2 separate regions of the Homo sapiens genome follow, and region 2 is linked to region 1. Evidence: promoter capture Hi-C in human tissues and cell types (Jung and others, 2019). All regions are on one chromosome and are shown on one strand. Each heading gives the region's core, a stretch centred on a gene start or on the middle of the fragment in contact. The rest is flanking DNA. Distances are from core to core; before and after follow the strand shown.

The links. Contacts are between HindIII fragments. The study calls those that stand out against the background at their distance.
Region 2: a fragment that was not itself captured here is called in contact with the fragment with the promoter of GAL in region 1 in 2 of the 25 tissues and cell types used here (H1 embryonic stem cells and dorsolateral prefrontal cortex).

The regions. Positions count from the first base shown.
Region 1 is chr11:68,682,567-68,686,016 of GRCh38, reverse strand. GAL (galanin and GMAP prepropeptide) reads right to left here and starts at 1,473. Exons shown (of 6, transcript NM_015973.5): 1 at 1,285-1,473; 2 at 1,013-1,093; 3 at 369-423. The coding sequence starts at 1,093. All of the region lies in intron 2 of LOC107984343 (a long non-coding RNA gene), which reads left to right. RefSeq lists enhancers at 727-1,402, 2,079-2,754. The HindIII fragment of the contact is 15,033 bases long and covers 1-3,450 here.
Region 2 is chr11:68,767,610-68,771,068 of GRCh38, reverse strand. The region is part of intron 14 of CPT1A (carnitine palmitoyltransferase 1A); the gene reads left to right. Among named protein-coding and RNA genes, the nearest start is that of TESMIN, 18 kb to the right of the region's middle. The HindIII fragment of the contact is 3,881 bases long and covers 166-3,459 here.

The DNA of each region.
Region 1 (3,450 bases), core at 224-2,723:
AGGATTTGGGGTCCGCTGACCTAGGGTGCTCTGCAAGCCGAGGAGTTGAGTGTTTTGGGAGACCCGGGGGCCTGGGGAGAGGCCCAGAACAGGGCCTGTAAGGACTGCAAGGCGGGAAAGCCCAGGAGAACTTGAGCAAAGCCCAGGGTGGGAATCTCACCCCGGGACAGGGCGGCAGAGCCGGGGCAGGAGAAGCTTCTGGAAAGAACCGTACACAGATCAAGTGTGCAGAGCAATGGAGACGGGCAATGAGGTCAAGAGGGAGGCCAGAGGGTCTGCCCAGCCGCAGGCGGAGGGGCAGGAGCCAGGGTTCAAAGCGAGGGGCAGGTGGGGTCAGGAGTGGGGAGGCCATGCTGTCAGTCACTTACGTGGGCCCAGCAGGTAGCCCGCGCTGTTCAGGGTCCAGCCTCGTTTTTCCTTGGCCTTGAAGGGAGAAAAGGGGATCAGATGCCAGGGCTGTGCCTGGAGCCTATGCTGAATGGGTGCACCCAGGCTTTCCCGGCATGGCAGAGGACTTAGAACAATGCATGTGCTTTTGGATAGCTCGCGAAATTCCAGGTTTACCCCTAAGTCGGCTATATTTGACATGAAAATGGAACCACTTTATTTACGAAATACTTCACTTGAGGGCCTGAGCCCGCGCACTCTCAGCGCACTGCACCTGCTTTAGTGACGCTGAGGCCACGCCAGTGGCTCCTAGCCCTCCATTCTAACTAAGCCCTGCGGAACGGGCGAGCTTCTCGCTTTCCCGAGGCGCTGACCCGAAGCGCAGAGCTCTCCCGGCGGCCTGGTTATAGCCCGGGGCTGTTGATACACTCGGAGAAGCGCGCGGGGGGAATCCCAGGGAGCCCCGGACCCTTCCCGCGACGCCCGCAGCCAGGACAGCGCCCGCCTTTCCACTTTCCACCCCCATCCCCGCGGGCAGGGCGGAGGCTGCCTCCTCCAGGAAGCCCTCCACGCCCGGCCGGCTCTGATGTCCCCTTCGCTCGGAGGAGACGCGCCCCGCACTTACCGGCGACCAGAGCCCCGCAGAGGCAGAAAGGGCCGCGGCGAGGAGGAGGGAGGCGAGCAGGAGGGCGCTGCCTCGGGCCATCTGGAAGGGAAGGACAGGGCGGGCGGGTCGGAACCCGGAGTGGGCTGCGCCCCGAGGCAAGGAGTGCCGGGGCTGCGGGGAGGAGCAGAGGCGGCGGCCGGGCCAGGGCCCTGGCAGAACCGTCCCTGGGCAGAGGAAAGCCGAAGGGGAGGCCTCCCGGGGGCGCAGGGTCGGCCCGGCGCCAGTAGTACCTTGAGCTGCGGCTGCGCCCGGGTTCGGAGCGTCGGGGTCCGGGTGCGGTGGCGGGTCTGGGCGGCAGGTCCGGGCGTCGGGCCGGGTCGGGTGGGCTCTGGCGGCCTGGGGCGCTCACCGCATGGCGCGGCCGGCAGCAGGGGCAGAAGGCGCGGGCCGGGTCCCTCCACGTGTCCGCCGCCCGGTGTGGCCGCCGCCACCGCCGCCGCTGCTATATATGCGGCGCACCCGGGAGCCGCCCGGAGTCGCGTCACCGGCTCAGCGCCCGCCTCCTGCACCCTCGCCGAGCCCCGAGGGCGACGGGAGTGACCCGAGCTCGGGTCCTCTGGGCCATCATAGGCGGGTGCGGCGGAGAGCCCCCCCTCATCCCGCGGGAGAGACTCCCCCAAATCTGCAGAGAGAACCCCAAACCCTGTGGGAGAGACCCTAATCCCGAAAGACAGAGCCCAATCGCCCCGCGGGAGAGCCCCCAGACCCGTGGCCCAAGTCATCGCTGTGGCGTCAACCCCACTGCTCCCCCCGGGGTCCCAGCCCCAGAGCAAGCCTGACCCCCCACAACGTCCCACGCCTGCGGTCTCCCTGCAGCTTCTCCTCCCAGCCCCTACCGCTGCAAAAGCCAGCTGAGCTCCGCAGCACTGGAGACCCCAGAGGGTGACGGGCAGGGACGACTCCTCAGTCCGAGCCAGCCCCAGCTGGGAGGTCATGGGGTACCCGGGGAATGGCGGGCAACACTTGGCCCTGCGCCCTGGCCGGCTTGTGCTGGGGCTGGAGCGAAGGTTCAGGCCTCGGGAGCCGTCGATGGCGGGGAGGGCAGGCGTTCCCGGCTCCCTGTGCCCAGCGACCTCCCTCCTGTTTCACTAAAGGGGGGCTGTGGATCTCAGGGTCTGCTTGGCCATCCCATTGTGGGAGCTGCGGGACCGTCGAGCATCCACAGGCACCAGCTCAGAAGCTCGGCCTCTCAGTGCCTCCCCTGGCTGCCTGGTCCAGTTGTAAGAGGGAGCTTTAAGCAGGTCCAGCCATTGGGCAACTGGTTAGGTCCAGAGGGAGAGCAGCCCAGACTCCCAGAGGCCGCCAAGGGGTGGGCGGTGGGCAGAGCAGCAGCAAGAGGCTGTCCTTGTGCCCAAGGCAAAGACATCCCACAGGAACAAGGCCCTCCTTGGCTCCTCCACAAACCCTTCCTGAGCTGGGGCCAAGTCCCGAAACAACCCAGGAGAGAACCCAAGCCTAGGCTGTTCCTTCACCCCATTCCCAGGCATCAGGGGAGCACAGGATCCCAGGCATCACACTTGTACAGTGTGGCACCTCCGGGCTTCCGAAGAGCACGGGGTCATCTGCTGAAAACTCGCCTGACCTCCCCTCCCACTGGCCAGACACCACCCAAGTCCTCAACAGCAGCAGCTGGGTTAGGATCTCCCCACCCACTGGGCTCAATATCAGATGGGTTGATGTCACATCTGTGGGTTGATGTCCACAGGGCACAGGACGAATGATGATCATGACAGTGTCATCTTACCTGTCCTCTACACTTTAGTCTTGGGAACCTTTGCACAGACAGCTACAGGCTGCCCCCAGGAGAGATCCGTCTGCCTCCACGTGGCTGGGGAAGGACAACTGGGCTTTCAAGAACTCTGGCGAAGGCCAGCGGCTGCTGGAGAAGGTGCAGGGCTGCAGCCTGGTGGCTGAGTGTCTGCTGTGGTTTATGGGAGGAAGAGGAGGAGACAGGACTTGGGGAGGGGTCTTAGGAACAGACTCCTGGCACGACAGTGGTGAGGGGTGGGGTGTTCCCAAGGGCACAGTTTGACTTCTGGTCATCCCTATTTCTTGCAGCCTGGGGAGAGGAGAGTCAGGCACAGGGGACCCTAACTAGGACTCACAGGCTGATTTCGGAGCCCACAGTAAACCCTGAAGTGGTTTCCTGCCGGGAGTGGGGGCGTGGGAGACAGTGAGTCGCCATGAGAGTCTGGGCCAGCCGTGGGCAGAAGGACAGCCGAGAGGCGGAGGAGCAGAGGGCACGTTCCTGTGACTCTGCAGAGAAGTGACAATGATGTCCTCTCATGCCCCATGTCCTTGTGTCTAGATGACATCAGGGAGTGGGCAGGGGCTGGGCTCATGGGTGCCTCTTGGCTACCTGAGAAATACTGCAACCTTTGGCCCCCGGTGGTAGT
Region 2 (3,459 bases), core at 857-3,356, 84 kb before region 1:
AGGTGTGGGAATGAGCTGCAAGGGGCACCAGCCACTGTGCCATGTACTTGGCAGGAGCGAGCGAAACTTCAGGACGGCCCCGAGGAAGGCATCTCTTCATCTCTGCCCTCCACACTCGGAGGTGAAGCATCTTGCCTGAGGGCTCCAGCTCGTACGCAGCAGGACTGAGATCGGAAGCAGGCAGGCTTGTTCGAGAACCTGTGGCTCTCATCACTGTGCTGCAGCTAAACGCAGAAAAAGGAAGCACAGACCAGCTTCCCGCATGAATGGAAGTGCAGAGACCCTCCATAAAATCTTAGCAACTAGAATCCAGCACTGTAGGAAAAGAATAGTCACCCACAGTGGCGTACACCAGCGGTGAGAGGCTGGTTTTGTGTCAGTAAATCCAGTCATACACTAAACCATACTGTTGGGTCAGAGAAGAGCCTAGATAGTGAGTTTCACAGATCCTAAGAAGACGTTTCACGTTTAACATCCATTCCTGATAAGAGCTCTTGGTCAAGGGGCTTAGTAATAGGGCTCTTTCCTTAACAGGATAAGTGGCATCGTGTATTAATAGCTAGCTACTGCTTCAAAGTAAAAGTGTGGGAGGCAGTCCCCTTAAAACAAGAAAGATGAGGATGCCTCTAGCAGATGACAGGGTAATTGGGCAGGAAGAACATTTATGTCTGTTCAGGAGATGGAACAGCAGAAAGGCTTTGACGATTAAGAGGCACACCCAGTGAGCCGGCCCAGCGCAGAGTTGCACAAAGACCACCAGCTTTCTTGCACAAGGATGATGGCCAAGTGGGAAATATAATAAGAGAATGTAATAGAAACGAGAATCTGGGGCCCCACCTTCCAGGCATACGTGTATAAAGCAGACTGGACTCTGGGAAGAAGGCCGAGGAGCACTCGCCCCCCAACTCCTCCCCAGGGAGAGGGAGAAAAAGCCATGATTTTGGATGAAAAAAAACTTCAGAACCATAGAGGAAGGGATGTTCCCAGTTCACACTGTTTTTTTTTTTTTGAGACGGAGCCTTACTCTGTTGCCCAGGCTGGAGTGCAGTGGCACGATCTCGGCTCACTGCAGCCTCGGCTGCTCACTCGGCTCCCAGGTTCAAGTGATTCTCCTGCCTCAGCCCCTCGAGTAGCTGAAACTACAGGTGCCTGCCACCACACCTGGCTAATTTTTGTATCTTTAGTAGAGACGGAGTTTCACCACGTTGGCCAGGCTGGTCTCGAGCTCCTGACCTCAAGTGATCCGCCTGCCTCAGCCTCCCAAAGTGCTGGGATTACAAGCCTGAGCCACCATGCCTGGCTTAGTTCACACATTTAATATGAACACAGTGAGAGGTCAGGCAGGGGCTTCAGGAGAGGAGCTTGCCCAGTTGATCTTGAGGCTTGAAAAGGCTAACATTTGAGAGTCACCTGTAACATTTTTGAAAAGAAAAGCAATCAGGCGGAGGCAGGACACGGGGAGGTGGACATGTACTTTTTCAAATCCTAAAACTTAAAGTGTAGGAGTTAGAAGACTGTTGTGATTAAAGTGGTCTCAGTCCTATAATCCTAGCACTTTGGGTGGCTGAGGCAGGTGGATCACTTGAGTCCAGGAGTTTGAGACCAGACTGGGCAATATGGGGAGACTCTATCTGTACAAAAAATACAAAAAAAAAAAAAAAAAAATTAGCCCAGCATGGTGGCGCATGCCTGTAGTCCAAGGTACTCCGGAGGCTAAGGTGGGAGGATCACTTGAGCCCCGGAGGTGGAGGCTGCAGTGAGCCGTGATCGTGCCACTGCACTACAGCCTGGATGACAGTGAGACCCTATCTTTAAAAAAATTGTTTTTAATAAAAATAAAATGCTGCAGTCCTCGTACAAAAGCAGGCCTGGGAAATAACGTGTAATGGAGGGAGCATTTGACATCAGTAGGGGACGGGGAGCTGGTGAGTAAATGGAGCTGGGAAATCTGGCTAAGTGGTTGCCTTTGGAAAAAAATAATCCAAGAGAAATAAGGAGTCAGACCAGAAACTGTGGTTCACAAGAGAGGAAAAATACGGTCAATGAGTGTAGGTAATAAGCTTAATCTTACCAAGAATCTAACAAGTACAACTTAAACAAGACTAGATTTTTGCCTACGGGGTTGGTAAAGGCTTTTTTTCATGTTGGTGAGGGTGGACTGAGGCAGGGATGTTCATAGAGCAGCTGGGAATAGTTTTAATAAATTTAGGGGCCCCATGGCAGGACTGGGAGCAGCACAGACCACACAGTTGGAAACATGCATCGGGGAAGAATAACTTTGACCCTGCACATGATCCATGAAAAAGGGTAGGTACACAAAAAACACGTGTGAGCAAGCTTACTGTAAAAATGTGAGGAAATCTGGCCAGGCGCAGTGGCTCGTGCCTGTAAACCCAGCACTTTGGGAGGCCTAGGCAGGTGGATCACTTGAGGTCAGGAGTTCGAGACCAGCCTGGACAACATGGTAAAACCCCATCTCTGCTAAAAATACAAGATTAGCTGGGTGGTGGTGCACACCTGTAATCCCAGCTACTTGAGAGGCTGAGGCGGGAGAATCACTTGAACGTGGGAGGTGGAGGTTGCAGTGAGCCGCCAAGACCACGCCACTGCACTCCAACCTGAGCAATAAGAACAAAACTCCGTCTCAAAAAATAAAAAAAGAAGAAGAAGAAATCTTAAAAGTTAATGCTGGCAGGCCGGGCACAGTGGGTCATGCCTGTAATCCCAGCACTTTGGGAGGCTGAGGTGGGCGGATCATGAGGTCAGAAGATCGAGACCATCCTGGCTAACACGATGAAACCCCGTCTCTACTAAAAATACAAAAAATTAGCCGGGCGCGGTGGCGGGCGCCTGTACTCCCAGCTACTCGGGAGGCTGAGGCAGGAGAATGGCGTGAACCCGGGAGGCGGAGCTTCCAGTGAGCCGAGATCGCACCACTGCACTCCAGCCTGGGTGACAGTGCGAGACTCCCTCTCAAAAAAAAAAAAAAAAAAAAAAAAAAAGACTGGAAACTAGAAAGTGTCTGAGACAGGTCTCAATTTATTTAGAAGTTGATTTTGCCAAGGTTAAAGATGCGTGCCTGGGAGACAGGCCTGTGCCTTCCTCCAAAGGTGGTTTTGAGGGCTTCAGTATTTAAAAGGAAAAGCAGGCAGGAGGGGAAGGAAGGGAGGGCGTGGCCACGTTACGGAATTCCCATGATGCAAGAGAAAAGGGGCGGTAGGGGAATCGTCAGTTACATATTTGTTACACAAAACCCGGTGAACCCAGAGTGGAGACATTTCGCCTTTTATCCGTCACTCTGTGCTTGGGAACAAAAGAAAAAGGCAGCTTCTTGCACGAAGCTTTCAGTGTAATCCTTTCCTTTCGGCAGAGTGAATCTTCCTTTCATGATACTAAATTAAAATAGGGTATTTTCACACAGCGGAATATTATATAGCTATTAAGTGATGTCTAAGGCAT